2 separate regions of the Homo sapiens genome follow, and region 1 is linked to region 2. Evidence: promoter capture Hi-C in human tissues and cell types (Jung and others, 2019). All regions are on one chromosome and are shown on one strand. The core of a region is centred on a gene start or on the middle of the fragment in contact, and the rest is flanking DNA. Distances in the headings are between cores, read along the strand shown. Region 1 overlaps CHCHD6 (coiled-coil-helix-coiled-coil-helix domain containing 6). Region 2 holds the start of C3orf22 (chromosome 3 open reading frame 22).

Region 1 (5,637 bases), core at 2,950-5,449, 160 kb before region 2:
GCTACACAAATATTAATTATAATCCATACCAGGCACATATTGGGTACATAAAAATACATGAGTTGATCAATAATAACAACAGTTAGCATTTGCCACAGACCATCAGCACTGTTCTAAGTGCTCTCCATGTAGCTTTGCAACCTTGAGCAAGTCTTTTCTCAGCTTGTCCATACTGTACACAAAATTAAATTGGGCACATTCTTTTTAAAGTGCCCTCCAGCTCTGACATCCTGTGGCTCAAACCTGAACCTGCCCTCACCCTGGAGTAACAGGGGGACACCAAGGAAAGGGGCCTCTTCCCTGCCGCTACCCTGGCACACTTGGCTGGCACCTCCATAAGACTCTAATGACAAAGTGAAGTCCAGGAAGAGACTCTCTCTCCTCCCCTCTCCAGCCCACAGTCCTTGCCCTACAAGCTCCGTGATGGAGGGGGAACGCGTGCAGAGTAGTGAAGGCCCACAGACAGTCTGAGTCAAATGCAAGGCCAGGCCAGGGAGAGGCCCAAGCCTCAATCTAAGCCACACACACACACACACACCCCTCAGCACTTCCACCTTAACAAATGCATTTGGAACCCAGATCCCACCTCCTTCCAAGGAAGAAACCAAAATCTGACCCTAACCAAAATGCCAGCCTCACCCAAAAGCAACTGTGAACTTAGAGGCAAGTTCCCAAATGGCTACAGATTTCTTTTTTTATTTTTTAGAGATAAGGCCTCCCTTTGTTGCCCAGGTGGTCTCAAACTCCTGGGCCCAAGGGATCCTCCTGCCTCAGCCTCCTGAGTAGCCAGGACTATAGGTGCATGCCACCGTATGGGTTTCTTTATTAAACCATACAGGTCTACGAGTAAGTCACATGGCCACCTCGCGACTAAAAGGTTGTAAGGAGAATGGTGCCATCTTAAAAACCTCAAGTAGGTATTATCAACAACTGAATGAACAAGGACAGGAGTGAGCAGTGTGCAGCTGACCCAATATAAGGTCATGATATAAGGTCATGAGGATGAGAGTTGTGATTGTAACTGAGTTGTGCCACCTTACTAACGCTACCTACCTACTGATTAACCTTCATCCAGCACTCACTGTGCACAGACCACCTCACTAATCCTCACAATGCCACACCCACCTTCTACTTGAGAAAACCAAGGTAGAGAGAGGTTAAAGAACTTGCCCAGTCCATGAAGCCACAGGACCAAAGCCTGACTGCAGGGAAAGCCGCCTGACCCCGGCCTGCGTGCTTAACTGCTGTGCTGCTCTGCTTTGAAGGCAGCAGGCTGCCACCCCAACAGCAAGAGCAAGGGGAGATGCACCTGCTAAGCAGCACTCAGGCCCCTAGAAAGGACAACCACTACAGAAGCTAAAGCGATAAAAAGAGGGGCCAAGATTGCTGTAGAAAGGCCAGGGAACCAACTGACTCCCAGCAGGCTCAGCCTCAAAGGGGACTGCACGCATTTCCCCGACTCCCCTGTCTGGAACCAGCCCCCCTATCAACCCCACCCCTGCCAGCACCGTCCCTCCCCTTACTCTGCTTTGCTTTCTTTGCAGCACTTATGACCTCCGGGCACAACAGACCCCAAGCACTTTTTTGTCTTCACTCCAACAGCACAGTGGCTCCACAGGCGCAGGGATTCCATGATGCTCCTGCTGTATCTTCAGGGCTTAGCACACCGGAGACACTCAAATGTTTGTGAACCACATGAATTAAATATTTATTAGAGGCCTGGGTCCATAACATGGTACTAGCATGATGGAGTATATAAAGATATGACATCCATGACCCTTCTACTCAAAGAGCTCATGGTCAAGCAGGGTGGAGGAGACAGATACAGAGGGAGAGAAGACAAGCCACTGAGCAGTGGATACCAGCGGCCCTCCTAAGGGCCCAGGAGGTTCAACAATGGAACTCCGAGTTCCAGCTAGAAGGGAGATGGCCTGAATTGGGCCTGAAGGGATGACAGCAGAGAAGGGGTGTGAGCAGAAGGTGGCGTTCCAGAGAGAGGTGTGGCATGAGCAAAGGCACGGAAGGGAGGGAGCTCCAAGGAGCACCACGGCTCAGTCTGGCAGGGACGTGAAAACATCAGGTGTGAGGAGTTGCTGGAGTGCCACCTGTTGAGAGCCTTGGATGGCAAACCAAGGAAGCTGGAACTGGGAGTCAGTGAAGGCTATAAGCAGGGATGTGGTCAGTCTTCTCTTTGCACAGGAAGGTCTGGCAAAGCAGGAGGAGGGACTGAAATCACGAAGGGGCTGGTAGCAGGGAAACCACCACAACAGTGCAAATCAGGAGGAGGAGCACTGAGAAGTGTGACAACTGAAGCAGTGACAGGGAGGGGATGGTTACAAAAGACGCCAAGGAAGTGAAACTATTTCAGACCATCTGACTGAATGCGCAGGTAAGAGGAAAAGGGAATGGACGGAATAGCGTGATCTCATTTGTACTTGCAGAAAGGAAAGAGTGCACTTGTATCCACGGCCTTGGGAAAACTCTGAAAGGATTCATGAGAAATTGTGACCAGCTGGCATTTAAAAATAAGATGCACTCCACAAGAAGAAAAACTCCTAAAGTAACAGGGATGAGGGAAAACTGATAGCAAGGCCCTGAGTATGGCTCGTGGGAAAGAGGCAGGCATCATTATTGAGCCACATTATTGATCTCTGTGTGGGTGTGTCATGTTCCAAGTCCATCCATGCAGCTCTGTTCCACAGGCAAACAGGTTGCACAGGAAGCTACAAGAGGCTACCTCTCTAGAAAGATGTTAGGGAATCCCAGGCATACAAGAGCCTAGGGGCAGGCCAGGTAAGAATGTAATTTCCCCACACTCCAGAGGCAGGCAGCAAAGCTCATGGCTAGAAGAGAAGACTGCAACCCAAGACTGATGATAAGGGTGCCTATTTAAGGCTAATGACAAAAACGACCCTGACTTGCCGTTCCTAGAGCATACTCCATATGCCAGGCTCCAGGTAAGGGCAGTCCCTGTGCAGCGATCGCCACTTTACAGATGAAGAAACTGAGTCAGGGAGGTGGAACGTGGGAAGTGCTAGGGTAATGACTCAAATCCAAACCCTGGACACTTAACAGGGACCCCTGCACAAGTAAAGGCAGTAACATGGAGCTGCTCTGAGGTGACAAGTAACCCTTTTCATAGAAGGGAAGACTGGGAAACAATAGAATGATTTGCAGTTCCCACTTCCTCCACCGACTGCTTTATGGAGCCCCAGGGAGATGGACGGGCAGAGCATCCGTATACCCACAAAACAGACAACCTACTTTAAAAACTAGTCGAATGTCAATATGAAAATGAGTATGTTTTTAGCCTTAAAAATGTTAACTACCTAGGCACATTTGGGAAGGCGCAATGGGGAGGCAGTTTAAGCATTAGTCTTTGCATTGAAAGTTCACACAGTTCACAAAGTGAGGCATCACAGGCAGGAGCGGTGTCATCGTCCTCACTCTGAGGATGAAGAGAGTGAGCTGCAGAGAGTGACTTCCCAAAGTTATACAGTGGGTCAGCAGCCGAGACAGGCCTACGCAGCCATGCTCCATCCACTCAACGCAGTGTTTTCCTAGGGCCTGCTGGGTGCTAGGCACTGGAAAACGAGGAAGAGATAAAATCAGCTCAGGCCTACAGCAGGCAGGCAGGGTGGGCTAGGGCAGGCCTAGCACCAGGACAGTGCCGATGTGGCCAGTTTCAGAAGGACAGGCTTCCAGGAGGCTCAGCCTGTCAGCTCCTGGTGCCAACACCCCGATGCCCGACACCCCAGTCTCTGTAGAGGTGTTGCCCAACCCCGTGATCCGAAGAAGATCACCCCCTTGCCTAAGGCTGTTGCCTTGGAGATTTTGTTCCCTAGCTCTTCAGTTTTCTATGAGCTGAAATTAGATGCACCGGCTGCTCACCACAGATGTCAATCCCAGAAAGGCAGAACAAGAAGAGCCCTCGGAGACCTCCTACACCAAGCATGGCACACACAAATGCCCACAGGAGTCGGACAGGTGGTGGAAACAAATAAAACAAGCCTGATTTTAAAAAATAAAATTTATAAAGCACCATGCAAGGATACCATGGTGTAACTGTAATGAGACTGCACAGCCACCTGAAGAGTGTAGCCACTTTGCAACTCCAGCAAAGTGTTGTCACACAAGAATGGCAGACTTTCCATTTGTTCCCCCAAAAAAGCTAAAAATAAATTTTATGTAAAGCCTCCCAACTTTTTTTTTTTTTTTTTTTTTTTTTTTGAGATGCAGTCTGGCTCTGTCGCCCAGGCTGGAGTGCAGTGGTGCGATCTCAGCTCACTGCAAGCTCCGCCTCCCAGGTTCATGCCATTCTCCTGCCTCAGCCTCCCAAGTAGCTGGGACTACAGGCACCCACCACCATGCCCGGCTAACTTTTTGTATTTTTAGTAGAGACAGGGTTTCACCATATTAGACAGGATGGTCTCGATCTAAAGCCTCCCAACTTTTAAATGGTGGCAATTACTTAAAATCAATTAATATCATTAAGTTTCTGGAGTCATAGTTTGAGGCAAGAAAAACTGAGCCAGTGGCTTAAACTTTTATCCAACAAGTATTTTACTGACTTGTGCCAAGCTCTGGCTTAGGTGCTGGGGACAGAGAGACGAAGAAGATGTGGCCCCTGTTCATGGGGCAGAAAGGAAGTAAGTGTGGAATAGATCATTTTGGCCCAGGGCACTAAGCCCTGGGAGGGGACCACAGAGTCTGCAGGGGACACCACCAAAGGCTCCTTCTGAAGGCAACACTTCCACCTGGCCAGCCAAAGGAGGAGAATCACAGGCACACATGCATGAAGCAGCTTAGGGTCCCGCAGGATCAAGTGTCCCTGCAGGGAGGCGCAGTGAAGGCAGAAAGTGGCGCCCACACATGAAGGACCTTGTGAGCCAGGCCCGGAAACATGCCTTTAACCAAGAGGCAAGGGGGAGACATGAAAGGATGTGACACAATCAGCCTCAACTCTGAACAGTCCCCGGGACACAAGAAGCTGGTCACGGGCTGCCTCTGGGAGCAGGACTGACAAAACACAGTGGAAGGGAGACAAGCTTTTCCCCGGGCAACTCCTTTTTAACTGTCTGCATTTAATGACCATCTCCTGGAAACCTGTTCAAAAGTAAAATTTGCGTTTTTTAAAAAAAATAGCCTGGTAGCACCAGAAAGTATAGATTTGTGGGAAGCAAGCTAATAAAGAACAATTTGTCAGCTGGTCAAGGGGAAGATAGTATAGGCCTGAACTGAGAGTAGGAAGGACAAAGAGGAGAGAACAAAACGGAGAAACTGCTGTAAGGTAAAGCTCAAGACTTGTCATGAATATAGAGAAAGAGAGGAACGTGGATGACCGCCAGCTTTCCGGATGAAGGACTGGATAGTAGAGCTACTCACAACAGAAGAGACAAGGGTCATCTCTAAGGGGGCAGAGAAGAAATGCGGGTGAGTCCCATTTGGACACAGTCAATTAAATGTACCCATGGGACATGCACGGGGGTGCTGGCAGGGTCATTTAGAAAGCTCTGGGTTGGATATTTAGAATCCAGAAGTCATGGGTGCATGAATGAGGATGAAAGAGAATGGCCAGGAACAGGGCACAGAAGGGATAGCAGGCTCAGAAACGGTCAGAAGCTCCTACCAGACACA
Region 2 (5,508 bases), core at 2,579-5,078:
CTATTTTTAGCAAAATGATACTTTAAGAATGAAGGAAAACTTCAGACATTTCCAAATAACAAAAGCAAAAAAGGGGGGTTGTTATCAGTAGACTTTCCCTATTAGAAATGCTAAAGGGAAAAGGGAGGGTTTTAGCAGAAATGAAAATATGCTAGACAGAAACTTGAAACTATAATACAAAATAAGAACACTGGTAATGGTAGTTACATAGCTAAATATAAAAGTCAGTATGACTGTAATTTTAGTATATAATTCCTTTTTTACCTTAGGAATTAAAAGTTAAGTGCATAAAGGAATAATTACAAATTTATGTTAATGGGTGCACAATGTATAAAGATGTAATTTGTGACAATCAATATAAAGTGGAGTAATGAAGAGATACAGGAGTAGAGTGTTTATATATAATTTTAACTAAGTTGCTATTCATACTAGGAGGTTATAAGTGTAAGGTGTTGATTGTAACCTCCAAGTTAAACCACTAAGATAGTAACTAAAAACTATACTGAAAAAGACTGAAGAAAAGACTCAAAGTAGTACGCTACAAAAATCAAGTAACTTTACAGCTTAGGCAGTAATTGTGAAATTGAGGACCAAAAAACACATGAGACATAAGGAAAAGAAATACTAAATGGCAGAAGTAAGTTCTTTCTTCTCAGTAATTACTTTAAGTGAAAGTGGATTAAATTATCCAATTAGTAGGCAAAGATTAGCAGAATATATAAAAGACCCATATATGTGCTGTCTATAAAGAATCACTTTAGATTCAAAACTCATATAGATTGCAAGTAAAAGGGTGGAAGAAGATATTCCATTAAAGCAGTAACCAAAAGAGAGCTTGCATTGATATGTTATTGTCAGACAAAATAGACTTTAAGTCAAAAAGGTTACAAGAGACAAAGAACATTAAACATTGATAAAAGGGTTGATCCATCAAAATATATAGCTATCATAAACATATATGCACCTAACAACAGAACCCCCAAAAATATGAAGCAAAAATTGATAAAATTGAAGGAAGAAATAGTTCTACAGTAATAGATGGAGATTTTAATACCCAAATTTCAATAATCGATAGAACCAAACAGAAGAAGATCAATAAAGAAATAGAGGCTGAGTGCAGTGGCTCACGCCTGTAATCCCAGCACTTTGGGAGGCTGAGGCAGGTGGATCACCTGAGGTCAGAAGTTTGAGACCAGCTTGGCCAACACAGTGAAACCCTGTCTCTACTAAAAATACAAAAATTAGCTGGGCGTGGTGGTGGACGACTGTATTCCCAGCTACTTGGAAGCTGAGGCAGGAGAATTGCTTGAACTTGGGAGATGGAGGTTGCAGTGAGCTGAGATCATGCCACTGCACTCCAACCTGGGTGACAGAGTGAGACTCTGTCTCAAAAAAGAAAAAGAAATAGAGCACTTGAACAACACTCTAAACCAATTAGACCTAACAGATTATATAGAAAACTAAACCCAACAATAGCAAAATATACATTCTTCTTAAATGTACATAGGATGTTCTCCAGGACATATTAGGCCATAAAATAAATCTTAATAAGCCTAAGAAGATTCAAATCATACAAAGTATATTTTTTATCACAACGGAATGACTAGAAATCCATGACAGAAGGAAAACTGGAAAAATTACAGTATTTGCCTATTAAATAACACACTTTATGCAACCAGTAGGTCAAAGAATAAATCCACAAGGGAATTTAGAAAATGCCTTGATATGAATTAGGCCAGGCACGGTGGCTCACTCGTGTAATCCCAGCACTTTGGGAGGTTGAGATGGGTTGATCATTTGATGCCAGGAGTTTGAGACCAGCCTGGCCAGCATGGTAAAACCAAGTCTTTACCAAAAATGCAAAAATTAGCCAGGCGTGGTGGCACCTGCCTGTATTTCCAGCTACTCGAGAGGCTGAGGCATGAGAATCACTTGAACTCAAGAAACAGAGGTTGCAGTGAGCCGAGATTGCGCTACTGCACTCCATCCTGTGCAACAGAGTGAAACTGTCTCAAAAAAAAAAAAAAAAAAGAAAAGAAGGAAAGAGAAAGAAAAAAGAAAATGCCTTGATATGAATTAAAAGAAAAACTCAACATACCAAATGTTATGGTATGCAGAGAAAGCAGTGCTAAGAGGGAAACTTGTAGCTATTAATGTCTACATCTTAAAAATAAGAAGGATCCCAAATTAATGATCTAACTACACAATTTAAGGAATTAGAAAACGAAGAGCAGACTAAATCCAGAGCTAGCAGAAGTAAGGAAATAATGAAGGTTAAAGATAAATCAAGTCGAGAATGGAAAAACAATGGAGAAAATCAACAAAACCAAAAGGCGATTTTTGAAGTGATCAAAATTAACAAAGCTTTAGCTAGATTGACTAAGGAAAGAAAAAGACTCAAATTAGTAAAATAAGAAAGGAAAGTGGGAGGTATTACTACTGACCATACAGAAATAAAAAGGATTATGAAAGAATACGCCAAAAAATGTCACGCCAACAAATTGGATAACCTAGATAAAATGGACAAATTTCTAGAAACAAAAAAAAAAAAAACCAACAAGACTGAATCAGGGAGAAATAGAAAATATGAATAGACTCATAACTAGTAAAGAGATTGAATCAGTAACGAAGAAAAGCCCTGGGCCACATGATATCACTCGTGAATTCTAACAAACACTTACTAAAGAACATACATAAATGTTTTTCAAAGTTTTTCTAAAAGTTGAAGAGGTGGGACCATTTCCTAACTCATTCTGTGAGGCCAGCATTGCCCTAATACCAAAGTCAGACAAAGACCCTACAAGAAAGGAAAACTAGGGGCCAATATCCCTTATGAATACACATGCAAAAATCCTCAATGAAATATTAGTAAATGAAATTCATCAGCATATTAAAAGTGTTACACACTATTAACAAGTAATATTTATCCCTAGAATGTAAGGATTATTTTTTCATAATGAAAATATCAATGTACTACACTACATTATTAGAATGAGGAGGAAAAGACATGATCATTTCAATTGATGTGGAAAACACGCTTGACAAAATTGAACACTCTTTCATGATAAAAACACTCAACTCCTTAACATGATAAAGGCAATATATCCAAAAATCCCACAGCCAACACCATACTGTATAGTGAAAAACTGGAAACTTTTTCTCTAAGATCAAGAAGGAGACAAGGATGCCCACCTTCCCCAGTTCTATTTAACACAGTACTGGAAGTTCTAGCCAGAGCAACTAAGCAAGAAAAGGAAATATAAAGCATTCGAATTGGAAAGGAAGAAGTGAAGTTACCTCCGTTCACAGATGGCATATAGAAAACCCTAAATAATCCATAAAAACCCTGTTAGCACTAATAAGTAAAAAGCCGTAGGGTATAGCAGACAGTGGCACAGGTGAACAGCACTAATAAGTGAAAAGTCGTAGGGTACAGTAGACAGTGGCACAGGTGAACGGCTGAACCACTTCCAGTTCAGCTCCTTCACTGCCTTCTCCTTCCTCAACCCCCTGCAACCTGGTGTCCACTCCTCCACAGAAACAGCTTTTCTGCAGCCTCAGTGTCTGTACCTATTTCTGGGCGTCTCTTCTGTATGCAGAACCTGAACAGGGAGAGGTCTCTGCTATGAAGAGTGCAGATGTGGATGCTTCTGTCTGGGTGCGTGGAGCTGAGAGGCTGGCCAGCCCTGGCCCATGTGCTGCTGACTTTGCAGTCACTCCCTGGGCCAGAGGGGCTTCAGGCTGGAGTCTGAGCCTCATGGGTCAGCAGCTGTGATGTCACCAATTGTGACCTCAAGGGCTTCTGACCTTGCAGTGAGCTTGTTGGCACTGCCTGTCCGGGGACCCTGGGGCTGCTGTTCCTGTGGTAATGTGGCAGCTGGGACCATGGCCAGCTTCAGTCTGCCTGGCGTCACATAAGCCAGCCCACAGGGTCCTGCAGCTTGTCCTTTCTGGCTGGAAGCTCTGGGCATAGCCTGGGACTGGGTCTTTCCAGAGAGGGCTGTAGCCAGGGCCCTGCCAGCCTCGGGGGCCACAGCGGCTCTCACACCAGCATCTTGCTGGATAGGAGCAGTTCCAGGACTCTCTGATCACACCTGATCATCGTCACTGCCAGAATTCAAGGTAGCTGCCTGGTGAGTGCTAGCAGCCTGTGTGGCTGGAAAGGACAGTCCCCAAGTCGGTTAGGGACTTGGGAAGCAGCAACAGGGTGGCGGAGAAGAGCCTGGGACAGGGTCATGATGGCAGAGGGCAGCCCTGGACTCTGCAGCAGCCCTGTCCCTGTGGGGCAGATTCAGCAGTCAGCTTACAGGGTCATCTCCATGACCTAGGGGTCAGGTGGGAGGGTATGGGGTGGGGCTGAGGGGCGCTCCTGTCTCCCTTGATCCCTCAATTCCTGTGGTAATGCTGCTTCCCCGGTTCAGGACTGTTTGAGGCTGCATGGCCCAGCAGGAGGAGCACAGGCCACCCATCCTGAACCTCTTCCCCGACTCACTGTGTGAATGCAGGCAAATCAGTTAACTTTCCGGAGCCTCAGTTTCCTCACTTGAATTATGGGGGTGAGCATAATACGTTCTCCATCAGGTAGAAAAAAAATGAAGTGAGGTTATGCATAGAATGTAGCAGACACTTAGAGGCCACAGGCACCATTCTGCAGCCTCCTGCTGTGGCCCTGCTGCCTGTCCCGGCCCAGGCTTCCCCTGCCCCGCACTCCTCAGGGTTGAGCCTGGGCTGGAGGTGACTCACCCAAGTGCACCTGACAGGAAGGGGCTGAGCTGGGGCCTGGCCCAGGCTGTGGCTGCAGGACTGTGGGCTTAGGCCCAGCGAAGGCATCCCAGAGTCCTCAGAACAGCCAGGGCTGCAGGGGCGGAGGCCACCAAGACCCCCTTTAGCCAGCACTGGTGTAGAGAGCTGCACCCTGTACTAGACTAGTGGGCAAGTCAGTGGGGAAGCCTGCCCTTCAGGGCCCAGGGACTTCTTGGTGCGGGCAAGGGACAGGTCGTGAGCAGGGCTGGCAGTATTTCTGGGCCAGGGCAAAGGCCCTCTGGATGGCTGATCTTCCAGAGTCAGAGATGGGGCACGGAGGCGGTGGGTGAGCGGGTGTGTTCTGGCTCACAGACAGGCTGGTCTCCCATGCCATGGCCATGGTCCCAGTGGCCTGTGTTCAGTGTCCAGTGTGCAGCCTCCCGCCTCGGGCCTTGAGTGATTCCACACTTGGCGGCAGGCAGCCTCCCAGCTAGCCCAGTACCCCGCCCTCAGAGGGATGGATGAGCAGCATGGCACATTATGGGATCACTGCCGAGCAGTCTTGCCCGAGCCCACCGGCTTTTGGAGGACTCCGGAATCCCAGATTTGGAAAGGGCTACCCGTGTTCCCCAGGGGCTCCTCTCCAGACATCATCGGATTTTGAATCATGCCAGGTGTGGTAGTAGGTCACGCCAGCTGCTTTGAATTGGGAAGGGAAGCAAGGTGCGTTATGGGCTGGTGGGGGCAGCCTCTGCCTTGGACCAA

What was found. The method cuts DNA at HindIII sites, captures the fragments that hold promoters and counts their contacts. A contact is called where the count stands out against the background at its distance.
Region 1: a contact is called between a fragment that was not itself captured here and the fragment with the promoter of C3orf22 in region 2, in 1 of the 25 tissues and cell types used here (thymus).

Annotation. Positions count from the first base shown.
Region 1 is chr3:126,712,670-126,718,306 of GRCh38, reverse strand. The region is part of intron 1 of CHCHD6 (coiled-coil-helix-coiled-coil-helix domain containing 6); the gene reads right to left. Among named protein-coding and RNA genes, the nearest start is that of CHCHD6, 11 kb to the right of the region's middle. The HindIII fragment of the contact is 6,288 bases long and covers 1,056-5,637 here.
Region 2 is chr3:126,557,252-126,562,759 of GRCh38, reverse strand. It overlaps C3orf22 (chromosome 3 open reading frame 22), which reads left to right and starts at 3,828. Exons shown (of 4, transcript NM_152533.3): 1 at 3,828-4,133. It overlaps LOC105374090 (a long non-coding RNA gene), which reads right to left and starts at 3,747. Exons shown (of 3, transcript XR_924455.2): 1 at 3,571-3,747. The HindIII fragment of the contact is 13,796 bases long and covers 1-5,508 here.